Regions from separate parts of the Homo sapiens genome. Here region 1 is linked to region 2. Evidence: promoter capture Hi-C in 16 types of primary human blood cells and fetal thymus (Javierre and others, 2016). All regions are on one chromosome and are shown on one strand. The core of a region is centred on a gene start or on the middle of the fragment in contact, and the rest is flanking DNA. Distances in the headings are between cores, read along the strand shown. Region 1 has its middle 10 kb from the start of CHD6. Region 2 holds the start of PLCG1 (phospholipase C gamma 1).

The links. Contacts are between HindIII fragments. The CHiCAGO score rates a contact against its expected background, and 5 or more counts as called.
Region 1: a fragment that was not itself captured here is called in contact with the fragment with the promoter of PLCG1 in region 2 in 3 of 17 cell types (naive CD4 T cells, activated CD4 T cells and total B cells); the score reaches 8.6 in naive CD4 T cells.

Annotation. Positions count from the first base shown.
Region 1 is chr20:41,624,884-41,632,170 of GRCh38, reverse strand. No RefSeq gene overlaps it. Among named protein-coding and RNA genes, the nearest start is that of CHD6, 10 kb to the right of the region's middle. The HindIII fragment of the contact is 674 bases long and covers 4,568-5,241 here.
Region 2 is chr20:41,131,737-41,138,792 of GRCh38, reverse strand. PLCG1 (phospholipase C gamma 1) reads right to left here and starts at 1,250. Exons shown (of 32, transcript NM_002660.3): 1 at 935-1,250. The coding sequence starts at 1,151. It overlaps LOC124904903 (translation initiation factor IF-2-like), which reads left to right and starts at 1,280. Exons shown (of 2, transcript XM_047440629.1): 1 at 1,280-3,091; 2 at 3,501-4,950. The coding sequence starts at 1,454. The coding sequence ends at 2,035. PLCG1-AS1 (PLCG1 antisense RNA 1) reads left to right here and starts at 793. Exons shown (of 7, transcript NR_109889.1): 1 at 793-1,079; 2 at 2,982-3,091; 3 at 3,501-3,654; 4 at 5,148-5,306. RefSeq lists enhancers at 133-212, 361-460, 382-1,166, 1,951-2,735, 4,496-4,545 and 1 more and silencers at 611-870, 991-1,980, 6,659-6,708. The HindIII fragment of the contact is 8,103 bases long and covers 1-2,292 here.

The DNA of each region.
Region 1 (7,287 bases), core at 3,655-6,154, 490 kb before region 2:
GGCTAGAATATCTTTCATTGTTGCTGTTGGACTCCAAAATTGGCGCTGTAATGACTCCCCAGAGTTGTCATGGGCTCTGAGTCACACAGCCCAGATTTAGCCACAGCTGGGTCCCCTACGTCGGTGGAGCTCAGACTTCAGCATGCATTTAAGCACAGGCTTCTAGCCCCACCCCCAAACTTTCTGATCCAGTTGGTTTGGGTTGAGTCCAAGAATTTGGATTTTTACCAAGTTCCTAGATGCTGCTGCTGGTCCAGGAACCACACTTGGAGAACCATTAAGCCAGTAAAGCTAAGCTGTTGCTGTTCATCCTTTTTTTTTTTTTTTTTTTTTTGACACGGAGTCTCACTCTGTCACCCAGGTTGAAGTGCATTGACGCGATCTTGGCTCACCGCAACCTCCACCTCCCAGGTTCAAACGATTCTCCTGCCTCAGCCTCCTGAGTAGCTGGGATTACAGGCACCTGCCACCATGCCTGGCTAATTTTTTTGTATTTTTAGTAGAGATGGGGTTTCACCATGTTGGCCAGGCTGGTCTCGAACTCCTGACCTCAGGTGATCCACCCACCTCCACCTCCCAAAATGCTGGGATTACAGGTGTGAGCCATCGTGCCTGCCCGGTCCTGTTCTTTTTTTTTTTTTTTTTTTTTGAGACGGATTTTCACTCTTGTCGCCCAGGCTGGGGTGCACTGGCACAATCTCGGCTCACTGCAACCTCTGCCTCCCGGGTTCAAGCAATTCTCCTGCCTCAGCCTCCTGAGTAGCTGGAATTACAGGCGCCCGCCACCACATCAGGCTAAATTTTGTATTTTTAGTAGAGACGGGGTTTTGGCATGTTGGCCGGGCTGGTCTCAAACTCCTGACCCCAGGTGATCCGCCCACCTCGGCCTCCCAAAGTGCTGGGATTATAGGCGTGAGCCACCACGCCTGGCGTCATCTTTTAAAATTACTATAAGACATCTGAATTAGGGTTCTCCAGAGAATAGAACCAAAAGGACACACACAAGCATGCACACATGCACACACACACACATACACACACAAGAAGATTTATTATGGGAATTGGCTCACATGATTATGGAGGCTGAATATTTCCACTATCTGCCATCTGCAAGCTGTAGAACCAGGAAATCCAGAGGTTTGATTCAGTATGAGTCCAAAGGCCTGAGAACCAGGAGATCTTATGATATAATTCCTAGTTCAAGCTTGAAGGCCTGAGAACAGAGAGTAGAGGTGAGGGGAGTGCAGGTGTAGTTTTCAGAATCCAAAGCCTGAGAACCAGGAACTCCAATGTCCCAGTTCAAGGAGAGGGGGAATTTACTCTTCTTCCATATTTTTATTCTCTTTGGGCCCTCAACAGACGATGCCCACTAACATTGGTGAGGGCAATCTTCTTTATTAAGTCTACTGATTCAGATGCTAATTTATCCTGGGAACATCCTCAGAGACACACCCAGAAATGTTTCTCCAGCTATCTGTGCGTCCCTTAGCCCAGTCAAGTTGACATATAACATTAACCATCACAGCATCTGTGTTCTGTAAATGTTTTTGTTTGTATGCTTTGTTGGTGCTTTCTTTTCACTTTTCCTTCTGTCAAATCCTAGCCTTGTTTTTGCTTGTGATACCTAGAGCGGGAGCCTAGGAAAGCTAGGACACTGGACTGAACTGCTATTTGTGTGGCAGCTACTGCTGCACTTTGGCACCTGGGCTTGTGGCTGACAGACAGAGATGGTGATAGCTCTAGACTCTGCAGCCTTCCTTCCAGTGATGTGCCTCAGTTTTACTATTTGTAAAATGAGGGTAATAACTTTTTCTTTGTAAGAATTAAATATTTTATACATGTAAAGCATTTAAAACAGTGCTTGGAACAAAGCCAGAGGCATCACATTACCCAATATTAAGCTATACCATAAGGCTACAGTAACCAAAACAACATGGTACTGGTACAAAAACAGACACACAGCCCAACAGAACAGAATAGAGAACCCAGAATTAAAGCCACACAGCTACAGCCATCTGATCTTTGACAAAGCTGACAAACATAAGCAATGAGGAAAAGACTTCCTATTCAATAAATGGTGCTGGGATAGCTGGCTAGCCATGAGCAGAAGAATGAAACTGGACCCATACTTTTTAACCATATACAAAAATTAACTCAAGATAGATTAAATATTTAAATGTAAAACCTCAAACTATAAGTAAATCCTAGAAGAATACCTAGGACATACCATTCTGGACATTGGCCTTGGAAAATAATTTATGATTAGGTCCTCAAAAGCAATCACAACAAAAACAAAAATTGACAAGTGGGACCTAATTAAACTAAACAGCTTTCACACAGCAAAACAAACTTTCAACAAAGTAAACAGACAACCTACAGAATGGGAGAAAATATTTGCAAACTATGCATCTAAAACAGGTCTAATATCCAGAATCTGTAAGGAACTTAGACAAATCAAGAAAGCAAAAACAAACAACCCCATTAAAAAGTAGGCAAAGGGCCAGGCACAGTGGCTCAGGCCTATAATCCCAGCACTTTGGGAGACCAAGGCAGGCAGATCACTTAAGCCCAGAAGTTTGAGACCAGCCTAGGCAACATTGTGAAACCCCATCTCTACAAAAAACTACAATGTGGTGGCATATGCCTGTAGTCCTACCTACTCGGGAGGCTAATGTAAGATTGCTTGAGCCCAGGAGGTTGAGGCTGCAGTGAGCCATGATCGCACCACTGCACTCCAGCCTAGGCAAAAGAATGAAATCCTGCCTCCAAAAAATAAAGAAAGTAGGCAAAGAACATGAACAAAGATTTCTCAAAAGAAGAAATATGAGTGGCCAACAAACATATATTAAAAAAAAACCTCGACATCACTAATCATCAAGACACAAATCAAAACCACAATGAAATACCATCTTACACCACTTAGAATGGCTATTATTAGAAAGTCAGAAAATAATAGATGCTGGCGAGGCTTCAGAGAAAAGGGAATACCTATACACTGTTGGTGGGAATGTAAATTAGTCTAGCCACTGTGGAAAGCAGTTTAGAGATTTCTCAAATAACTCAAAACTACCATTCAATCCAGCAATTCTACTACTGGGTGTATACCCCCCAAAAAATAAGTCATCCTACCAAAAAGACATGTGCACTCATACATTCGTCACTGCACTATTCACAAGAGCAAAGACATAGAATAACCTAGATGGCCATCCATGGTGGATTGGATAATGAAATGTGGTACATATACACCATAGAATACTATCTAGCCATAACAAAGAATAAAATCATGTCCTTTGCAGCAACATGGATGTAATTGGAGGTCATTATCCTAAGCTAACTAATGTAGGAACAGAAAACCAAATACCAAATGTTCTCACTTATAAGTGGGAGCTAAGCATTGGGTACAAATGGACATAAAGATGGGAACAATAGACACTGGGGACTACTAGTGGTGGGAGGGAGGAAGGAGGGAAGGACTGAAAAAACTCCTATTGTGTGCTATACTTACCACCTGGGTGACGGGATCATTCACACCCCAAACCTCAGCATCACACAATATTCACATGTAACAAACCTGCACATGTACCCACTGAATCTAAAATAAAAATTGAAATTATTTTTAAAAATTTTAAAAGCAGTGCTTAGTTCATATTAATTATGCAATAAAATTAGCTATTATGAACTGTCAATGTAACAGTGCATGTTTTAGTAACATGGGGGCATCATTCTCTTCAACTTTATTCCCTTCTGGCATATATTCCAAAAAGAAGCAAAAGAAGTGGTAGGAGCTGGACTTCCTGGCATCCAGAGATTTAACTACAATCATGAAAGCATAAGAATCATTCACAATAAATGGAATTGGATGGAGAAAAACAACTTACTGCCATCAGTTTCGTTCAAATTGCTGATGGTTGATCTGGAGTTTTCTGTTACGAACAGGCTTTGATACAAGTAGGCAATGCAAGTGATACGGTTTGGCTCTGTGTCCTCAACCAAATCTCATGTTGAATTGTAATTCCCAATGTTAGGGGAAGGACCTGGTGGGAGGTGATTGACTCATGGGGGCAGATTTCCTCCTTTTTGTTCTCATGATAGTGAATGAGTTCCCATGAGATCTGGTTGTTTAAAAGTGTGTAGCACTTCCCCTTTCTCTTTCTCTCTCTTTCTCTCTCTCTCTCCTGCCGCCACGTGAATATGTGCTTGTTTCTCCTTTGCCCGTCCACCATGATTGTAAGTTTCCTGAGGCCTCCCCAATCATGCTTCCTGTCCAGCCTGCAGTAATGTGAGTCAATTAAACCTCTTTTCTTGCTAAATTACCCAGTCTCAGGTAGTTCTTTATAGCAGTGTGAGAACAGACTAATACAGCATGTTTGCTGAATGGGACTGAAATGAGTCATAGAATAACCTAAAATATCTGGATGTAGATCATATGTTAAGAAAACACTTAAAATGTGGGGCAAATTTATACAAAGCACATTTTAAATATACAGTAACTTAATGATGGCTGTCAGTTGTATCACCCAAGGAAATACTGTTATCTATTGCTGCATTACAAATTATCTCCAAAGCTTGGTGGCTTAAAAACAACAATAAACATTTATTATCTCACATAGTTTTCATAGGTCAGAAATTTGAGAGTGACTTAGGTTTTCATGAGGTTGCAGTCAAAATGTTGGCTGGGGATGGATGCAGTCTCATCTGAAGGCTTGACTAGGCATGGAGGATCTACTTCCAAGATGGCCCATTCACATGGTTCCTGACAAGAGGCCTTGAGTTCTTGCCACAAAGACTTTTTCCATAAGGCTGACTGAATGTCCTCATGTCATGACAATGGACTCTTCCCATTGCAAATTACCCAAAACAGCAAGACAGATGCTGCAATGCCATTTATGACTAGCATTGGAAGTTACACTCTGTCACTTCTGCAATATCCTACTGGTTACATACATAAATCAGGTCTATTCAGTACAGGAGAGGGCAGTATAAGGGTTTGAATCACAGCAAGTGAGTATCACTGGGGGCCAACTGGAAGGACAGTTACCATGCTTCACCTCAGCAAAAACATGGAAACTAATTAATTTTTTAAAACTATAGTTTTTTGTTTCTAGTATGTAAAACTGTGTTGCTTATTTTTATTACCAGTTTTCAGACGGTAGCCTCACCAAATTGGTCAGTAATGTTGATGGTAGAATTGCACACATAAAGAAAAGGATTCTACAGCAACTTGAGGCTTAGTAAAAAGCTTAAGAACTTTTTTGTTGCTGTGGTTTTTTTTGTTTTTTTTTTTTTTTGTTTGTTTGTTTGTTTGTTTTTGGAGACAGAGCGTTGCTCTATTGCCCAGGTTGGAGTGCAATGGTGCTATCTCAGCTCACTGCAACCTCCGCCTCCCAGGTTTAGGTGATTCTCCTGCCTCAGCCTCCCAAGCAGCTGGGGTTACAGGCGCACACCACCATGCCCAGCTAATTTTTGTATTTTTAGTAGAGACAGGGTTTCACCATGTTGGCCAGGCTGGTCTCGAACTCCTGACCTCAAGTGATCCACCCGCCTTGGCCTCCCAAAGTGCTGGGATTACAGGCATGAGCCACAGCGCCCGGCCTTAAGCAAGTTTTTATGGCTGAAACTGTCTAATGGTCATTGCAGGAAAGTACACTGCTGAGCAAGAATGAAGGATTTACGAAGCTGTTTCAGGGTAGCGTGACCAGCGTTTTTGAAAAATCCTGCCCAAGAACATTTGAGGTGTGATTTTCCATAAATCATAGTAACTGAAAGGGACCACAGTCATTTTTATATATAACCTTGGATTTAAAAAATCAAAATAGCGGTAGTGCTATACATGGGTGAGAGTGAGAGCTCTGTGGCACTGTAAGAGTTAAATCAGTGAGATTAATACATGAGGGGTAGAGGCCATATATCAGTAGAAGGCACTCCAAAAGACAGAAGGTTCCCCAAGCCAAACACAAGAACAGAGATTGACTTCAGTTAAATCAATGGAATTAATATGTTTCAAAACCTGCAGGTCGACAAAGGGGGAAAGTCTATACAGAACACGGGGAAATGGGAGGCAGAGGAAAGGCTGCGATAATTATATATTAATAACCAATTTGTTGAGCAGTTGCCATGTGCAAAGCACTTTGCATGAATCATTTAATCCACACAACAACCCTATTATTGGAATCATGAAACTGTAAGTTAAGTGACTTTCTTTTTTTTTCTTTTTTTTGAGATGGAGTCTCACTCTGTCACCCAGGTTGGCATGCAGTGGCACAATCTTGGCTCACTGCAACCTCCATCTCGCAGGTTCAAGCAATTCTCCTGCCTCAGCCTCCTGAGTAGCTGGGATTACAGTGGTGTGTGCCACCAAGCCCAGCTAATTTTTCCATTTTTAGTAGAGACAGGGTTTCACCATGTTGGCCAGGCTGGTCTCAAACTCCTGACCTCGGGTGTTCCACCCACCTCAGCCTCCTAAAGTGCTGTGATTACAGGCATGAGCCACCATGCCTGGCCTGTTAAGTGACTTTCTTAAGGACACTAGTGGTAGAGCTGAGATTTGAACCACATCTGTAGGGCTTCAAAGCCTGTGGGCTTAACTAGTCTTATCCAGCTTTGTGCTGGAGAATGGAGCTTCTGGCAGGAGGATGCCTTGTGGCAGATTCACCCCTACAGTAGAGATACAGGGATTGGACCAGTGTAGTTCCAGAATACTGGCTATTAGCATCATCCCCTCAGTTCCAGGTTCCAGAAATCACCTTCTGATCATGTCTCCTCTTCCCACAGAGAGAGAACAAGGTCAGGGTCTGACAAGACAGGCTGGGCTGCTTGGCAGGTACAATTCTCAAGGGAACTAAAAAGGATATTTTTAAGATGTTTAATCATGAAATATTTCAAACATACAGAAAATAATATAAGAGATGGGCCGGGAGCAGTGACTCATGCCTGTAATCCCAGTGTGTGGGGAGGCCAAGGCAGAAGGATTGCTTGAGTCTAGGAGTTTGAGACCGGCCTGGGCAACACAGCAAGATCCTGTCTCTGAAGAAAAAAAAAAAGAGAGAGAGAGAGATGACTGAAAAGGTACCTTTACTGACAGTGCGTTGTGCTTGCTTCACAGTTTTCAAAAACTCTGAGAGATTAAAACACAGAGACTTTATCTAAGCACAAATAGGCCCAAGACCAGTGTGTCTATAAACTGGCTCAGACATGTTTGCAAGGGCAGCATTATTGGAAATAAGTATATGGCTTCTTAAGATATTACTTTGAAAGACAGAAATCAGAGTGACTACATTCTCACACACT
Region 2 (7,056 bases), core at 1-2,500:
CCCACTAGAGACCAGCGCAAAAGCAGCCAAGCTCAGGCCTGGGAAGGCGAAAAGGCAGGAAACTAAGAGAAGCCGCTCCCGCTCCCTGAAGCCACCGGACAGAGGACAAAGGGCTAGACTCACAAACTAGCTGCACTCCTGAGAAGAATACCTGACTCCAAGGCGCTGGGGCAGGCCTTTATGGGGCCCATCTCCTGGGAACGTGCTTCCCAGGGCAAGGGGAGTCCCTGCCCTGGCATTGAGTGTCTGCCCACCCACATAGGCCTCCAAAACCCAGCTTTGGGACAAAAGTAGCAGAAAAAAAAAAAAAAAAATTCCAGCCACTGGCTTCTCTCAGGCTTCTCCAAACCAAACAAGACCACCTTCCTCCCTCTCCCCCAGAGGGAGATGAGTAGGCCCAGCTCTGCTCCAAGACCAGCCCTACCCAACATCTGCCTAAGTTCTACTTAGGGAACCCAAAGATTCCTTTGCAAATAAGAGCCCAGCCTGGGGGCCCGGAGAGTTTCACAGACTGCTCTTTCTGGATAAAGAGTGGGCGGGGACCGTCTGGTCAGGCCCCAGGTTCCCGTGCAGGGTGGGGGCCACTGCCTTAGCTCCCCTCGCCGACGCCGCCACCACTCCCAGGGTCTGGGGGGCCCGATGCCTGCACCGCAGGTCTCCAGCCCGCGAGGATTTTTAGGCCTCAGGGCAAAGCGCCTGGAACACTCCCCCCAGCTGGGGGAGGGGGGGTGTCCTGTCAGGTGACCGAGGACCCGGATGCCCCCCGCCCCCAGTGACCACCCGAGACGAAGCGGGGGCGGGGCCCGGAGGGAGTCTGGGAGGGCCCGAAAGTTTGCCCAAGTCGCTGGGGCGGCCGGCCGGGGTGCAAGCAGTCGGGCCGGGCTCCCACGACCCCCGCGCGGGGCGGGCCCAGGCAGGAAGTGGGCGCACTTACTGGCCCCCTCGATCTTGTCGGCGCCCCGGCTCCACGTGATCTGGCGCGTCTCCAGCTTGACCTGGAAGGTCTTCCGCTCGGGTCGCTGCGACTTCTTGGAGTAGAACAAAGTCATGACGGTGCCCACCTCGAGGCTGCGGCAGAGGTGCAGCACCTCGGCGTCCGAGGGCGCGCCGGGCCCGCAGCCGTTGGCGCAAGGGGACGCGGCGCCCGCCATGGCTCCGACGCTGGGGGCGGCGGCGGCACAGGCCAGGACCGCCCGGGAGCAAGCGCAACGGCGGCGGCTGAGGTTGGGGCTGAGGCTGAGGCGGCAGACGAGCGGGACCCGGCGGCGGCTCCTGCAGGCGGACACGGGGCGGGGCCTCAGCGCGGCGGGGCGGGGCTGCCCTGAGGCCCCACCCCGCTTCGGCGCCGGGAACAAAGGCGCCCGCGCACCCGTGGGGAGGACCCCCGCCCGTCGGCCCGCCGCGCCTGCGCCCCGCGACCCCCAGACAGGCCGCAGGCGGGGACGGAGGCGCGATGGCGGCGGGAGCGCGCGCCGTTCCCGGTCGACCCACCCAGCCCTCAGTCCCGCAGAGCTTTCTCACGCGGCCCCGGACACAGCCCGGCGGCCACGAGCGGCCCTGTCACGCACGGCAGCCCCGCCCACAGGCCGCAGGCCCGGCGGCCGGCGCGTCAGTCAGGCGTACTCGCACGGGCGGCCGCTACCCCGCGGTCCCGCACAGACGCAGCCCCCGCGTCCCGAACACCGCCCATGCAGCGACCGGGACGGGACGTGAGGGGATGGCGCGTCCTCCGGGAATGCCCGGCCAAACTCAGTTACCTGGGCGGGCTTCCCGGACAAGGGAGCCAGGACGGGCCGCCTCACACCGGCGGCGGCGGGTCCTCCGCGCGCCCTCTCCCGGGAGGGGCGGGGGCGGGGCTGCCTGCGGATTGGTCGCGGGCACTGATGGACAGCCGACATGTCCCGCCCCCCCGGCAGCGCGGGGCTGGTCCGCAGGCAGTTCTGGCGACGGCCAGACCCACGTCTGTCTGTTCCGCCCCTGCTGCCAGGGTGGCTTTCAGTGGTCCTCTCTTTCGGAGAGTTCCCCCCAAGCGTGAGCACCCCTTACAGGGGCGTTAGGTCCGCGGCCGCGCTGTCCAGTGGTCTGACCTGCAGCTCCCAGGGCCTTTGTGTCTGTCCCTCGCATGGGCCTCTGCACGCTCCGTCCCCACGCGACAGGACTCGAGTCCGATTCGGGGCTCCGACTCAGACCCTACCCCGCAGCGCCCTCCTGCAAATGCTCTCCTGAACTTTGGTTTTCCCCGCCTTGCTTTCTTCCTCCTCCTGTAGCCGCTGCCTCTCGATCTCAGAAGCTTCTCTTCCTCTGCACTCAGTGCTAGGCCAGATCCCAAGGCGACCTGACCTTTCCCCTGGCTTTGCCCAACAACACAGGCACCGGTGACTCCAAACCTGCATCTCCCCTACGTTCCAGGCCCCAGCATCCCACTGCATGTTCCACATCCCCCCCCCTTAGACAGCTCGCCTTCCCTCCCCAAACGATTCCTTCCACAGTCTTCACTTTCTCAGAACGCGGCGCTAAACTTCTCTAAGTTGGAAGGTCAAAAACCTTGCAGCTAACTTTGATTCCTCCCTTTGCCTCACCTCCAATCCATCAAGACCTTGTCACTCAGCCCACAAGCTGAAGGCCCCATCTCCTGTCACCCAGACTACTCACCTTGTTTGGTTTTGCCTGGATCTATCAGTTTGGTTTTGCCTGGATTTATCATGCTTTAAATCTTTAAAATGAAATTAAATCATGATCCCCTACATCCAGGCTAAAACCCTCCGTGAATTCCCATTGCACCTAAAATCCACACTCCCTGCTTGGCCTAGCAGGTTCTATATGACCTGCCCATCTCACCAGTTTCATCTCTCACAAGTGATCCTTCACTCTCCATTCTCCAGCCACAAGGCCTTTTTCTGGTTATGGAATATAATTCATACTCTTTGTCTTTCTGAAGCCATTCTTGAAACTCACCCCTGCAATCTATCTACCCTTGTCAGCACCGCCAAAATTGAGGACACCCACGGTCGCGGTGGAGCCTGTCTGACATGTTGAGCCAGGCAGTGGGTCGGCTGCCAGGCACAGCAGGACAACTTACTGCATTTCAGAGGTGAGAAGCCCAACAGAGCTTCCAGCTGATGCCAGAGAAAGAGCCAGGCTTCCTGGGAATTGTGAGATAGTAGGACTAGACTAGAGTTTGTAAGAGCGTGTGCTCAGGCAACCCACTCAGCTGGATAGTGACCTGGGGCTGCTGCTTCTGACTTTGTCTTGCTGTAGTGGAAACTTGTGTGTTAACGTTGATTTCCTCAAGTGCGTCCCCTAAGAAGCTCAGAATTCAGCATGACATTGAGACCCTTTGTCCTAGCCAGCCTCTGTGGAGTAAGGAGCGGTGGGGTAGCTGAGATGGACTGCCACCTAGTGGCAGGTCTTTACGTGGGCGGGACGGAGCTAGCGTAGACCCTGTGCTGAAGGTGTGCACCTGTGGTCACACCTGATCCTCATAATTATCTTCTAATCAGGAATGATGGTCCACAATTTACTGATGAGGAAACAGAGATTCAGAGAAGTTCTACAATTTGCCCCAAAGCCACATAACATGACTAGGTGGGAACTAGAACCCAAGTCGGCCTGACTCCATGAGTTTTCTGCCTCACAGGAGATCCACTGGCTTAGGTAAGTCCTGGTGGTCAGTAGTCAGTGGGCATGGAGGCTATCTGGTTAATCAGCATGGGTGAGGGGAGGCATGCTCACCGCTGGCCTTGGGCACAGGGAATCCAGCAGAACGTGAGTGCTCACAGAGTGTGGCTTGAACTGGCTTAGGCTTGAAGTTCTGTGGACCCTGCTCTTCTCTGTGTTGGGCATTGACAACATGAGGAGCACAAGAGAGACACAGCGCCAGCTCTCTGGGAGTTCAGACATTAAATAAACACTCTGTTACATAAAGACAATTATGATGAGGGCTAGAAGGAAAAACATTGGGTCGAGATCTCTTCAGACCTCAGCAGAGGTCTAAAGGAAGTGAGTCGATGGCGAGGTGAATTATTAAAGGTGGGTTGGAGAAAAGTACATTCCAAGTAGAGGTAACAGCATGTACAAAGGCCCTGAGGCCAGGAAGAGGTTGTTGAATTTAGGGTTACAAAGCTAGAGTTTCCTGACTGAGGAGGGGACAGGGAGTGATGAGACCAGGAAGGCAGACGGGGGCTGAATGGGGCCCCTCTCTGGCTGTCTGATCCTGTTTTGTACAGGAGGCACCCTCTTAAGTGCTGCAGCCCTCATTGAGCTTACTGTGCTGACTCCGGCAGCCTGTGGGCTCTGATGCACTTTTTACATCCGTTTCTCCATTTTTTTGGGAGCTTCCTAACATGCAGGGTAAGGCTTCCTTGCTTTTACTTTTGCCTCTGGGTCTGGACCTCTAGGGGCTCAAGAAATCCCTGCCAACAAGAGCTTGAGTTTTCAGCCCGTTGCCAGGCCTGTAATCAGGGAACAGGACCCATTTCCTCCTGGGACTTCTGGGCCAGCATCCCAGGCCTCAGGTGCCTCCTTCCACCAAAGGAGGTGCAGGAAAAACAGGGCATGCAGAGGGTGTGGTCTGTGTGGGCTTCCCCCAGCTCAGCATATATATGGGTGCGTGGGTGTGAATGGCAATACGTGCAGCTGCGCTGTCTGGGAGGAGCAGCCCAGCACCCACACAAGCACACGCCTGTGACGTCACCCATGCTAGCCCTGCTCAGGCCTATTTCTGTGAACATGCATGCTTCAGCATGCCCTGGCCTACACTGTACCTGTGCCCATGCCCAGAGTCTGGGGAGAGTCCCAGCCCAACTGCCCCTCGGGACCTGTGGGTTTGGCCTCACAGCTGTTTATTAAATGACCACTTAGAACAGTGGTTGACATATAGTAAACACTATGGAACTGCTTTATCCACATTGTCTCATTTCTTCCTCATTACAGCCCTATAAGTGCTCTTATTATCCCCATTTTCCAGATGAAAAAACTGAGGCACAGAGCTAAAAGGCAGGATTCAAACCCAGGTAGTCTGGCCCCAGAGTCAGTGCTGTTTTGCTTCCCATGTATGTATGAACACTTTATTGTATATCCTCTCTCCTTTGTAAAATACCCCTACCTGATATGTTTTCTCTCTTTTTTTTTTTTTTTTTTTGAGACAGAGTTTCTCTCTCGTCGCCCAGGCTGGCGTGCAATGGCACAATCTTGGCTCACTGCAATCTCCGCCTCCCGAGTTCAAGCAGTCCTGCCTCAGCCTCCTGAGTCTCTTTTGATTTGGTGCTGTCACAGGTTGGGTTCTTTGGATGTGGACTCTGTGACAGGTTAGTGTGCAGTATGTTTATTGGGGAGTGGCCCTGGGATCAACACTCTGGGAGGTACTGGAAAGAAACAGGAGTGGGCACAGGGAAAACTAAACTGAGATGCAGGCCTGATGACAGTCTCAGCCAACTCCCAGGATCTCTGTTGTCTGGCACTAGCCTGGAAAGGAGTTGTAATGTCCTGGGAAGAGCCTAGCCTGGGCCAGATGGCACTCTGCAGCCAAGATGATCTTCGAGGGGCTGACAGCTGAAGATTTTCTGCTGACAGCTCTCCCAATAGTTGGGTCAACAAGTCCTTCTTTGAAGGGGATCTGGGTGGCACGTTGCTATGTCTACCACAAGTGTATTCTTTTTCAGCCCTTTAAAAATGTTTTGAGTACTTAAAAATAGAGAATAAAATATAGAAATAGGAGATGAGATTATAAGGAGGAGGACGATAATATGGTTTATGGGTTAATGTAGCTGATGTGATTGAGAATTAAACATGGCTGAGCTTCCTGATAGCCAAAACAATAACACTTTCTATTCTGTTAACTGGTTCTTTGGAGTAAAAAAAATTTCTGGGGTTAAATTATAAAAGAAGTTTCTCACCTGGATACTTATTTAGTTGAAATAGTGGAGAATGTTCTCAACTGGTTAATAGCAAATGCTGATGCCGTTTTCATTTGTTCCTTGTAATGGCCTTGAGTGAATATCGAGGGCATAATATACAAGTATAGCTCAGTGAAGCCCTTTTCACATTAGAAGGGTGCAGATTTATAGTCTTGCAGTGTCTAATTTGATCCATGTGTAAAACATTGTCCTTTTTCTTTAAACCATTTTTTTTTTTTTTTTTTTTTACTCTTGTCGTCCTGGCTGAAGTGCAGTGGCGCAATCTCGGTTCACTGCAACCTCTGCCTCCCGGGTTCAAGCAAGTCTCCTGCCTCAGCCTCCTGAGTAGCTGGGATTACAGGCGCGTGCCACCATGCCCAGCTAATTGTTTGTATTTTTAGTAGAGACGGGGGTTTCATCATGATGGCCAGGTTGGTCTCGAACTCCTGACCTCAGGGGATCCACCCACTGCAGCCTCCCAAAGTGCAGGGATTACAGGCGTGAGCCACTGCACCTGGCCTAAACCATTCTTTAATTTTTACTCAGTTTCTCGTGTTAGACATCTGAACAGCCCCTCCTCTGGGTTTGTGAGCCAGCCTGCACCTCAGCACACAGCCAGTACTACTTGCTAAGAACTAACCTCAGTGCACCTTGAACTCCACCCACAACCTGCTGTTTAGGCTCCTGACCCCTGGCCCCCAAATCTATCTGTGGCTCCAACTTAGTCATCAGGCCTCACACTTCTTAGGTCATGTCCACCTGCTTTCCTCCTCACCTGGGTTGTGTTATCTGTCCCTCAAGAGCCTCGTGTTCTCTCTCAAGGCAAAATCACACCTGGCTCGGCTGCTCCCAGGGACTGCTGTCTCCATTGACCTTGGTGTATCTCTGCTGATTGGCCCCCATAGTGGGACCCAGATGTTGAGGTTCTCCAGCTGGGCTGCAGATGTATCTTCTTCTGAAAGGTGGCAGGGACACTGTGACTGCATCACTGAGGCAACATATGGCAATAAAGGAAGAGAAGGGGAAAGCCCAGGCCAGGGCAGACCTGCACTTTTCTGTTTTTCTCTCTCCTCCTTGCAACACGCTTCACGGATGCATCCTCTAGAGCACTAAGACAGCACAGCTGAGTCAGAACAAGTTCCCACTCCAGCAGTGGGTACAG